Linked DNA regions of Homo sapiens: region 1 is linked to region 2. The links are contacts of gene promoters, found by promoter capture Hi-C in human tissues and cell types (Jung and others, 2019). All regions are on one chromosome and are shown on one strand. Each heading gives the region's core, a stretch centred on a gene start or on the middle of the fragment in contact. The rest is flanking DNA. Distances are from core to core; before and after follow the strand shown. Region 1 has its middle 36 kb from the start of SLC6A2. Region 2 holds the start of CAPNS2 (calpain small subunit 2).

What was found. Contacts are between HindIII fragments. The study calls those that stand out against the background at their distance.
Region 1: a fragment that was not itself captured here is called in contact with the fragment with the promoter of CAPNS2 in region 2 in 1 of the 25 tissues and cell types used here (bladder).

The regions. Positions count from the first base shown.
Region 1 is chr16:55,616,705-55,623,023 of GRCh38, forward strand. No RefSeq gene overlaps it. Among named protein-coding and RNA genes, the nearest start is that of SLC6A2, 36 kb to the right of the region's middle. The HindIII fragment of the contact is 4,342 bases long and covers 1,302-5,643 here.
Region 2 is chr16:55,561,834-55,568,463 of GRCh38, forward strand. It overlaps CAPNS2 (calpain small subunit 2), which reads left to right and starts at 4,851. Exons shown (of 1, transcript NM_032330.3): 1 at 4,851-5,854. The coding sequence starts at 4,924. The coding sequence ends at 5,670. The region is part of intron 11 of LPCAT2 (lysophosphatidylcholine acyltransferase 2); the gene reads left to right. The HindIII fragment of the contact is 10,931 bases long and covers 2,433-6,630 here.

The DNA.
Region 1 (6,319 bases), core at 2,223-4,722, 53 kb after region 2:
CTAGAATAAACAGTGTAGAGAAGACCTTAAATGACTTGATGGAGCTGAAAACCATGGCACAAGAACTACATGACACATGCAGAAGCTTCAGTAGCCAATTTGATCAAGTGGAAGAAAGGGTATCAGTGATTGAAGATCAAATGAATGAAATGAAGCGAGAAGAGAGGTTTAGAGAAAAAGAGTGAAAGGAAATGAACAAAGCCTCCAAGAAACATGGGACTATGTGAAAAGACCAAATCTACATTTGATTGGTGTACCTGAAAGTGACAGGGTGAATGGAACTAAGTTGAAAAACACTCTTCAGGATATTATCCAGGAGAACTTCCCCAACCCAGAAAGGCAGGCCAACATTCAAATTCAGGAAATACAGAGAACACCACAAAGATATTCCTCGAGAAGAGCAACCCCAAGACACATAATTGTCAGATTCACCAAGGTTGAAATGAAGGAAAAAATGTTAAGGACAGCCAGAGAGAAAGGTCAGGTTACCCACAAAGAGAAGCCCATCAGACTAACAGCGGATTTCTTGGCAGAAACTCTATAAGCCAGAAGAGAGTGGGGGCCAATATTCAACATTCTTAAAGAAAATAATTTTCAACCTAGAATTTCATATCCAGCCAAACTAAGCCTCATGAATGAAGGAGAAATAAAATGCCTTACAGACAAGCAAATGCTGAGAGATTTTGTCACCACCAGACCTGCCTTACAAGAGCTCCTGAAGGAAGCACTAAACATGAAAAGGAATGACCGGTATCAGCCACTGCAAAAACATGCCAAATTGTAAAGACCATCGATACTAGGAAGAAACTGCATGAACTAATGAGCAAAATAACCAGCTAATATCATAATGACAGGATCAAATTCACAAATAACAATATTAACCTTAAATGTAAATGGGCTAAATGCTCCAATTAAAAGACACAGACTGGCAAATTGGATAAAGAGTCAACACCCATCAGTGTGCTGTATTCAGGAGACCCATCTCACATGCAGAGACACACATAGGCTCAAAATAAAGGGATGGAGGAATATCTACCAAGCAAATGGGAAACAAAAAAGAAGCATGGGTTGCAATCCTAGTCTCTGATAAAACAGACTTTAAACCAACAAAGATCAAAAGAGACAAAGAAGGCCATTACATAATGGTAAAGGGATCAATTCAACAAGAAGAGCTAACTATCCTAAATATATATGCACCCAATACAGGAGCACCTAGATTCATAAGGCAAGTCCTTAGAGACCTACAACAAGACTTAGACTCCCACACAATAATAATGGGAGACTTTAACACCCCACTGTCAATATTAGACAGATCAATGAGACAGAAAGTTAACAAGGATATCCAGGACTTGAACTCAGCTCTGCACCAAGCGGACCCAATAGACATCTACAGAACTCTCCACCCCAAATCAACAGAATATACATTCTTCTCAGCATCACATTGCACTTATTCCAAAATTGACCACATAGTTGGAAGTAAAACACTCCTCAGCAAATGTAAAAGAACAGAAATCACAACAAACTGTCTCTCAGAACACAGTGCGATCAAATTAGAACTCAGGATTAAGAAACTCACTCAAAACCACACAACTACATGGAAACTGAACAACCTGCTCCTGAATGACTACTGGGTAAATAATAAAATGAAGGCAGAAATAAAGATGTTCTTTGAAACCAATGAGAACAAAGACACAATATATCAGAATCTCTGGGACACATTTAAAGCAGTGTGTAGAGGGAAATTTATAGCACTAAATGCCCACAGGAGAAAGCAGGAAAGATCTAAAATCGACACCCTAACATCACAATTAAAAGAACTAGAGAAGCAAGAGCAAACACATTCAAAAGCTAGCAGAAGGCAAGAAATAACTAAGATCAGAGCAGAACTGAAGGAGTTAGAGACACAAAAAAACCTTCAAAAAATCAATGAATCTAGGAGCTGGTTTTTTTGAAAAGATCAACAAAATTGATAGACCACTAGCAAGACTAATAAAGAAGAAAACAGAAGAATCAAATAGACGCAATAAAAAATGATAAAGGGGATATCACCATCGATCCCACAGAAATACAAACTACCATCAGAGAATACTATAAACACCTCTATGCAAATAAACCAGAAAATCTAGAAGAAATGGATAAATTCCTCAACACATACACCCTTCCAAGACTAAACCTAGAAGAAGCTGAATCTCTGAATAGACCAATAACAGGAGCTGAAATTGAGGCAATAATTGATAGCCTAGCAACCAAAAAAAGTCCAGGACCAGACAGATTCAAAGCAGAATTCTACCAGAGGTACAAAGAGCAGCTGGTACCATTCCTTCTGAAACTATTCCAATCAATAGAAAAAGAGGGAATCCTCCCTAACTCATTTTATGAGGCCAGCATCATCCTGAGACCAAAGCATGGCAGAGACACAACAAAAAAAGAGAATTTTAGACCAATATCCCTGATGAACATTGATGCGAAAATCCTCAATAAAATACCGACAAATCGAATCCAGAAGCAATCAAAAAGCTTATCCACCACAATCAAGTTGGCTTCATCCCTGGGATGCAAGGCTGGTTGAACATATGCAAATCAATAAATGTAATCCATCACATAAACAGAACCAAAGACAAAAACCACATGATTATCTCAATAGATGCAGAGACGGGCTTCAACAAAATTCAACAGCCTTTAATGCTAAAAATTCTCAATAAATTAGGTATTGATGGGACATATCTCAAAATAATAAGAGCTGTTTATGACAAACCCACAGCCAATATCATACTGAATGGGCAAACACTAGAAGCATTCCCTTTGAAAACTAGCACAAGACAGGGATGCCCTCTCTTGCCACTCCTATTCAACACAGTGTTGGAAGTTCGGCCCGGGCAATCAGGCAGGAGAAAGAAATAAAGGGTATTCAATTAGGAAAACAGGAAGTCAAATTGTCCCTTTTTGCAGATGACATGATTGTATATTTAGAAAACCCCATTGTCTCAACCCCAAATCTCCTTAAGCTGATAAGCAACTTCAGCAAAGCCTGAGGATACAAAATCAATGAGCAAAAATCGCAAGCATTCCTATACACCAACAACAGACAAACAGAGAGCCAAATCATGAGTGAACTCCCATTCACAATTGCTTCAAAGAGAATAAAATACCTAGGAATCCAACTTACAAGGGATGTGAAGGACCTCTTCAGGGAGAACTACAAACCACTGCTCAATGAAGTAAAAGAGGACACAAACAAATAGAAGAACATTCCATGCTCATGGATAGGAAGAATCAATATCGTGAAAATGGCCATACTGCCCAAGATAATTTATAGATTCAATACCATCCCCATCAAGCTAACAATGACTTTCTTCACAGAATTGGAAAAAACTACTTTAAAGTTCATATGGAACCAAAAAAGAGCCCGCATTGCCAAGACAATCCTAAGCAAAAATAACAAATCTGGAGGCACCACACTACCTGACTTCAAACTATACTACAAGGCTACAGTAACCAATACAGCATGGTACTGGTACTAAAACATTATGGTTTTGATTCACATTTCTCTGATGACCAGTGATGATGATTATTTTTTCACGTGTCTGTTGGCTGCATAAATGTCTTCTTTTGAGAAGTGTCTGTTCATATCCTTTGCCCACTTTTTGATGGGGTTGTTTGATTTTTTCTTGTAAATTTGCTTAAGTTCTTTGTAGATTCTGGATGTTAGCCCTTTGTTAGACGGGTAGATTGCAAAAATTTTCTCCCATTCTGTAGGTTGCCTGTTCACCCTGATGGTAGTTTCTTTTGCTGTGCAGAAGCTCTTTCGTTTAATTAGATCCCGTTTGTCTATTTTGGCTTTTGTTGCCATTGCTTTTGGTGTTTTAGTCATGAAGTCCATGCCCATGCCTATGTCCTGGATGGTATTGCCTAGGTTTTCTTCTAGGGTTTTTATAGTTTTAGGTCTAACATTTAAGTCTTTAATCCATCTTGAATTAATTTTTGTGTAAGGTGTAAGGAAGGGATGCTGTTTCATCAGTGACAGACTGGATTAAGAAAATGTGGCATGTGTACACCATGGAATACTATGCAGCCATAAAAAGGATGAGTTCTTGTCCTTTGTAGGGACATGGATGAGGCTGGAAACCATCATTCTGAGCAAACTATCGCAAGGACAGAAAACCAAACACTGCATGTTCTCACTCATAGGTGGGAATTGAACAATGAGAACACTTGGACACAGGGCGGGGAACATCACACACTGGGGCCTGTGGTGGGGTAGGGGGAGGGGGGAGGGACAGCATTAAGAGAAATACCTAATGTAAATGACGAGTTAATGGGTCCAGCACACCAACATGGCACATGTTTACATATGTAACAAACCTGCATGTTGTACACATGTACCCTAGGACTTAAAGTATAATAAAATTAATAAATAAATTAATTAATTTTTAAAATCTCCAAAAAAGGACTCTAAAAAAATGTATTACTAAATACTTTTTGAAGTATTTTAAGGGTTTTAAAATACTTTAAAAAAGTATTTTAAAGGTTACTAAAACTAGTAACCATCATTTTGTTAATATCAAATATCCAATGTTCAAAATCTCATAAATGTCATTGTTGATTTTTATGGATATTTTATATGAATCAGGCTCAAAATAAAGACCACTTATTGCTATTGGCAAAAACAAAAACCACAAAACAACAGAAGGAAAAGACCCCCTCCTCCTCTCTATAGCCAAAAGTGGAAAAATGAAGCAAGAAAGTCTTCTGTGTTAATTAAGAAGATGACGCTAGAAAACATCTAGTTTTAGTATTTCTTCTATCCGTGAGATTCTGTGTTTCTCAGAGTTACTTCCTCGTAGGCAGCTGCAGGCATTTTTGGCTGTGGCATGCATTTCTGCCACGTAGAAAGATAAAGCATATGTGTCTGATGAAGAAAATTCAAGTGGGTTCATTGATAATTTGGGAAGCTGGAGTTAGGAGAAGGCTAGAACCCCTTCTAGGGTGGTTGCTTGAATTGGCATTACTGAATTTTAATTCACTTCTCTATAGTAGAAGTTTCCCCTAAATGTATTTTATTCACATACACTCACAAAGTTTTATTCAGTGGAGAAACATTTGTAATATAAACCTGCAAATTTTTCTAGATTTCTTAGAGTCAGTCATCTGCTTGTCAGCATTTCAGGCTAGAAGGCACTACAAATTAACCTGAGATAACTGAAGCAAAATCTCTGTGCTTGGCATAATTGTTAGGAAAAATCAATTTCTTTTGAAAGGTAAACACAGGCCCTGTGAACAGCTGATGGGCCAGCTGAAGTCACTTTTCACTGGATTTGTGATAACTTTCAGATTCATAGGCTAGAAGAAAGCTCAAAGAAAATGGATGGAAAGGTTGGGAAGGCTAAAATAAATTCCTGGTATAGCTAATTTCTATAAAAACAAGTGTTTTTCAGTAAATAGATTCAATCTGCAACAAAATGAGACATTGGTTTGCTAATTTCTTACTGTATCATACTGCAATGGTTTGATCTTTACAAATTGCATTTCCTTTTCATCCACATCCAGCTACATTTGTAGGCCTCACCTTACCTATCCACCCCTGCTGTGATATTTTTGGACTAAGAAGTAACCACCTACTCTCAATCTGAAAGTTTCTTGGTGAAGAAAAACAAAACACAGAAATCCTAAAAGAGAAGTGCCATCACTTTCCCAATGGCAGTTGGACTCACTGTTTAAGTAATATGTAAATGGAAACCGAAACTGTGGGGATGCTGCCTTTAAAACTGCCCAAGAGTGCCCCTTTCCCCATCACTAGCCCACAATGCCTGCATCATGCACATTATGAAGAAGTATGGCAAATGGAGAACAGCTGTGGGAAGATATAAACATAATCCACAAATGGCTCAGAAGAGAAGGTACCAGACAATTGGTCCTGTGATATGTTCTACGGTGCCGATTCTCAGAGGACATTTTTAGAGAATGATTTTGCTTTCTAGCTTGGGCTCACTCATAACAGCCATAAATATACCCAAACTTTGTCTTCATTCAGTCATTGATTCAGTAGATTATTGGAATCATGAGGCCAAAAAGTTTTGTTTTGTTTCATTTTAGTTCTTTAATGGTTCTCAAAGTAGCATCATAAAGAAGCTGCTTTTTTGGACCCTAGCAATGTCTGGAAGAAGCAGTAGCTCTCTTTGACAAATGAAGGAGCTGAGGCCCTGTGAGACAGAACAACTGCTTGGAGTCAACTCTGAAGACAGACAGAGGTCCCCCAGCTCTGAGGACACAGCTGTCCTTGGATTCCAAGATCCCTAACTTGTCGGCCAGCTCTGATTCC
Region 2 (6,630 bases), core at 3,601-6,100:
TCACAGAGGCCATTTCATTGTGCCTATGAGAAATAAAATCAGTTGTTGGAAAGTTTTACACAAACCACTCAGTGTGGCAGAAGACAGGACATTGCTCTCATGTCCTAGACAGAGCGATGTCCCTTGGCTACTATTCTCTCCCTAATAATAGCTAGAATAATCATTATTCAGTTCTAGAATTACATAATTTCCAAAGTAATTTCACATCTAATCTCCTTTTGACTTTACATTTGAGCTGTCAGTAGTTTCTACAATTACTTGTGAGAGAGACTCTGCCACATAGCAGTTCAAACCCCCTTCCAATCTGATTCCATTTTATTGATCTCCCTTTATCTCTCATCACTCCTAGCAATAGAGTCTCATCTCATTGTACTATTCACCATCTCTTGAATACCTCATATCCTTTAGCTCTTCTGTGTTTTTGCTAGACTGTCCTTTTATATCCCTTATCTATTTGGAGAACTCTGAGACTCAGCCTGTAGTCAGGCCTACACATGATCTCTTCTATAGGTAAATGTTCTCCTTTCCTTTGCCTCAGTAGAATTCATTGATCCCTTTTTGTGTGCCTATACTTGTTTGATATCATAGGACAGTGTACTAGCTGCGTGACCTTGGATAACTAGCTTAACTTTTCTGAATTTTTCTTACCTTATCTAAAATACATTTGTATCTTTCAGAGGAATTCAATGAAACCTAAATACTAAAACATATATATACAAATATAATAGATTAGTATTGATAGTAGAAATGTGAACACAGACTTCATATTATAATTATACCAGTTTCCTGTAGTTCTACTTGATTTTTGAGCACAGCCATCCTGCTTTATTCACCTTTGTAACCTAAGTACTGAGCCCAAGTCCTGATACATAATAAATCAGATTGAATCATTTGAAGTAAGCAAGGGCGATATTATTATTATCATTTTGTAGATTCGAAATTGAGACCCCCAAATGCTAAGTAATATAATGACTTAATCATTAAGTCCTAGCTACTTTTCCCCAAGTTCCCCAGTAGAACTTCCAATAACCTCTGGAGGACCTGTACTCTGACTATAACTAGTATTAAAGGTAGGATTTCTCAAAGTATTATCCAGGCTACCTGTTACAGACTGACTTCTGAAGATGCTTATTAAAAATATAAAATCAAATCTCAAAAATATACTGTTGAGGGGGGAAAAAGCTAGACACATAAAACCAGAAATGAAAGAGAAGACATTGCTACCAATTTTACAGAAATAAAAAGGATGATGAGTGAGTACTACGAACAACTGTATGCCAACAGATTGCATAAGCTAGATGAAATTGTCAAATTCCTACACAACCTACCAAGACTGAATCATGAAGAAGTAAAACATATGAATAGACCTATAACTAGCAAAGATATTGAATCAGTAACCAAAAACCTCCCAACAAAGAAAAGCCCAGGACCAGTTGGCTTCACTGGAAAATTCCACCAAACATTGAAAGAAGTACTAACACCAGTTCTTTTCAAACTCTTCCAAATAATTAAAGAAGAGGGAATACTTTCTGATTCATTCCATGAGGCCAAAGTCAGATAAAAACACTTGGAGAGAAGAAAACTACAGACCAATATGCCATATGAACATGGATGCAAAAATCAACAAAATACTAGCAAACACAATTCAACAGCACACTAAAAGTATTATACACCATGATCAAGTGGGATTTATTCCTGGAATGCAAGATGGTTCAATATATGAAAATCAATTAATGTAACACAGCATATTCTCAGAATGAAGGGGAAAAATCACATGATCATCTTAACAGATGCAGAAAATGCATTTGACAAAATTCAGTACTCTTCCCTGATAAAATCACACAACAAACTAGAAGGAAAGTGCCCCAACATAATAAACACCATATATGAAAAGTTGATAGCTAACATTGTGTTCAGTGATGAAAAGACTGAAAGCTTTTCCTCTAAGATCAGGAATAAGACTAGGATGCCCACTCTCATGCTTCTACTAACATGGTATTGGAAATCATCGCGAGAACAGTTAGGCAAGAAAAAGAAATAAGAGGCATATGAAATAGAAAGGAAGAAGTAAAATTATCTCTGTTAACAAATGATATGATCTTATTTGTAGAAAACCCTAAAGATTACCCCTCACACATACAAAACACAGAACTAATTAAGGGACTTAGCAATGTTACAGGATATGAATCAACACACAAAAATCAGTTGCATTTTATACACCAACAATGAACAATTCTGAAAAGGAAACTAAGAAAACAATTCCATTACAATGGCATAGAAAAAATTAAAATACTTAGGAATAGACTTCAAGAAGGAAGCTAAAGACTTGTACACTGAAAACTACAAAGCACTGCTGAAAGAAATTGAAGAAGAGACAAATAAATGGAAAGATATTCCATGTTTATGGATTAGAAGACAATATTAAGAGTCAGTACTTCCCACAGTGATCTACAGATTTAAAGCAATCCTTTTCAAAGTCCCAATGTTTCTTTACAAAAATAGAACAATCAATCCTAAAATTCATAGGGAATTTCAAGGGACACTGAATAGCCAAAACAATCTTGAAAAAGAATAGCAAAGTTGAAAGCCTGACATTTCCTCATTTCAAACCTTACTTCAAACCTACAGTAATCAAAACAGTGCAGCACTGGTTTCAAGAAAGACATATAAGCCAATGGAATAGAATAGAGATCCCAGAAGAAACCCTTGTGTATATGGTCATATGATTTTCAGCAAGAATGCCAAAACCATTCAATGGGGAAAGGACGGTCTTTTCAACAAATAGTGCTGGGAAAATTATATATCCACATGCAAAAGAATGAAGTTGGACCCTTAACTTACACATATACAAAAGTTAACTCAAAATGGATCAAAGATCTAAACATAAGAGCTGAAACTATAAAACTCTTCAGTGAAAACAGAGGAAAAGCTTCATGACACTGGATTTCTCAATGATTTCTTGAATATTACGCCAAAAGCACAGGCAGCCAAAGAAAAATAGATAAATATGACCACATACAAATTTTAAACTTTTGTGCATCAAAGGACACTAACAACAGAGTGGAAAGGTAACCTACAGAATGAAAGAAAATATTTACAAATTATATATCTGATAAGGGATTAATATCTAGAATATTTAAAGAACTCCTGCAACTCAACAACAAGAAACCCAACAAATAACCAGATTTTAAAATGGCCAAAAGATTTAAATAGACATTTTTCCAAAGATCTTCTTTGGTCAGTAAGTATTAATACATTAAAAGATGCTCAACATCATTAATCATTAGGGTAATGCAAATCAAAACTACAATGTTATACCACTTTACAGCCATTAGGATGGCTATTATTAGAAAACAAAACAAAAGAGAAAATAACAAGTGTTTGCAAGCATATGGAGTAATTGGAACTCTTGTGTATTGCTGGTGGGGATGTAAGTGGTACAGTCAATAAGGAAAAGCGTATGGTAGTTCCTTAAAAAGATAAAAATAGAATTATCATATGATTCAGCAATTCCACTTCTTGGTATATACCCAAAAGAATTGAAAGCAAAGACTCAAACAAATATTTGTATACCCATGTTCATAGCAGCATTATTCCCAATAGCCAAAAGGGCAACCCAAGTATTCACCAATGGGATAATGGAAAAACAAAATGAGTATATTAATGCAATACAATATTATTCATCATTAGAAAGGAAGGGAATTCTGACACATGATACAACATGGATGAATCTTGAAGAAATTATGCTCATTGAAATAAGCAAGTCACAAAAGAACAAATACTGTATGATTCCACTTATATAAGGCATGCAGAGTAGTCAAATCATAGAGCTAGAAAATAGAGAGATGGTTACCAGGGGTGGGGGAAGGGGAGAATGGGAGTTATTCTTTAATGGGTACAGTTTCAGTTTTGCCAGATGAAAAAAGTTCTGAAGATAGCTGGTGGTGATGGTTTCACAATGCAAATATACTTAATGCCACTGAACTCTATACTTAAAAATGGTTAAAATAGTATATTTTATGGCATGTGTATTTTATCACAATTTTAAAACATTTAACATTTTTATAATGAAAAAGGAATAAATGAAAGAGTCTGTACTGTCTGATTTAATTTATTTAAGGTGCAAAAATAAATCTATGGTGTTAGATGTCAGGACAGTGGTTATCCTTGGAAGACGGAAGTAACTAGAAAGAAGTATGAAGAGGCCTCTGAGATGTGTGCAGTCTGTGAAATTCTTTGAGCTATCCATTTGTGATTTATATGATACATTTTTTACATGAATGTTACATTTCAAAAAAGATTTTAGCAATGTCGATCACAGACACCACAGCAGCCCTATGGAATCAGAATCTCTGGGAGTGGAAATTCAGGACCTTGCATTTTAAAAATCTCCCTTCTAAATTTTTCTTAAGACTACTGGATTTTGAGAATCTTTGCTAAAGGAAGAGGATTAAATATTCTTCCAATGCCCAAGATTTCTTCAATTCTATTCTAACAATAAATATTTCTTAGAGAATAAATTTTTGATTTCCTTGCATCATTTACCTTTTTCCTGTTAGGAAAATGCACATCATTTTTTAGGTGCTGAGACAGAGGACTAAGAAATCAATGACATAAAAATGCATACTTTAATATTTTTTCTTTAAAACTATTATCCTAAGGTGTCCTACATACTATAATTTATAAGTATCTGGAAGAGTGAAAACAATTTTATTGAGGCCTTGTAAAATATGGCAGGTGCTAGGACCTCATGGAACTCAGGTATCTTCAGTAGGATGTGAAACATCACATCATGGGGCGTGGTGCAGTGTAAGCAGGTAAAGAAAAGCCAGTTCTTCCACATGTAAACTACTTGAACTCCATTTCATCTTTTTTCATACCATCTCTAAGATTGCTGCCGCATTTGCTTGTTAAACTGAAAGCATGTTTCTTGCAAAGGCTCTATTGGAAGGAGCAGATCGAGGTCTTGGAGAAGCTCTTGGAGGCCTCTTTGGAGGAGGTGGTCAGAGAAGAGAAGGAGGAGGAAGAAATATTGGAGGGATAGTTGGAGGAATTGTGAATTTTATCAGTGAGGCTGCAGCAGCTCAGTATACTCCAGAACCGCCTCCCACTCAGCAGCATTTCACCAGTGTGGAGGCCTCAGAAAGTGAGGAAGTTAGGCGATTTCGGCAACAATTTACACAGCTGGCTGGACCAGACATGGAGGTGGGTGCCACTGATCTGATGAATATTCTCAACAAAGTCCTTTCTAAGCACAAAGATCTTAAGACTGACGGTTTTAGTCTTGACACCTGCCGGAGCATTGTGTCTGTCATGGACAGTGACACGACTGGTAAGCTGGGCTTTGAAGAATTTAAGTATCTGTGGAACAACATCAAGAAATGGCAGTGTGTTTATAAGCAGTATGACAGGGACCATTCTGGGTCTCTGGGAAGTTCTCAGCTGCGGGGAGCTCTGCAGGCCGCAGGCTTCCAGCTAAATGAACAACTTTACCAAATGATTGTCCGCCGGTATGCTAATGAAGATGGAGATATGGATTTTAACAATTTCATCAGCTGCTTGGTCCGCCTGGATGCCATGTTTCGTGCCTTCAAGTCTCTGGATAGAGATAGAGATGGCCTGATTCAAGTGTCTATCAAAGAATGGCTGCAGTTGACCATGTATTCCTGAAGTGGGAACTGAGAAGTCAAGATCCTCCCTGGAGGACAGGACTGAAAACCTTGCCAAGCTGTACACAGTTGCTGATACCCTGTGCAACAGCTCTCATTTCCTGGCAAGCTCTTTCACAACCCTACATATTTCTGATCATGTGCTGCCTTTTACTGCTGAATTAAAACAGATATTTCACGAAAAATGTTCTGAGTGGTTTGTATATCAGCTTTTTGAGATTTGGATTTATATGGACTTGCATATATATGGTGGGGAGGTTGTGGGGTAGAGTTCTAATGGAGTAGATTTTAAAAGGTGTTGCTTATTTAGTGAATAAATTCCAAGGAGTAGGAACTTTATTATTGTTGTTATTGTTGTTAAGAATGAATTTTTTTAATCCTAGAATAAATCAAGAAAGCCCTCAGGAGATACATTTTCCATTTTAAAAAGTTGAGGAGAGAGGTTCAAAATCTGTTTTTCTTGTAATTTTATACCTGGTTTTCCCATTATGTAAAAAAATGAAAAGTGCTTTTTAGGAAACTTATTTAACCATAAAGAAACAGGTTCAGACAATGAAATTAAGCAGTTTTATATAAGGGTAGCATTTTTTTAAATGATGGAGCTACTATCTAAAATTCTAAAGTTCTTTAATTCTGTTTCTTTAGTAAAAAAAAGCACTAGCAATTTTGTTTTGATACATTTGTAAAGAGAGTCAAAGACATTGAGGAATAAAACAATATGCTCATAGTTCAAAAATGTCTCTAGCTGCCTTAATGAATCAAAATGTTTGCTCTTACACGTACTTCATACAAAATCAGGCATGCCCTGTTGACGTTAGCCAGCTCTTGTCGTGTCTTGTCCTGCCTTAGAGCAAGGAAAATTCTTTTGTTCATCTTTGAAAACTACAGGCAGGAAATAAGCAGCAAACAAAGAAAAACAAAAAAAGAAAAACACATGAACAGTAATCAGTTAAATGGAATG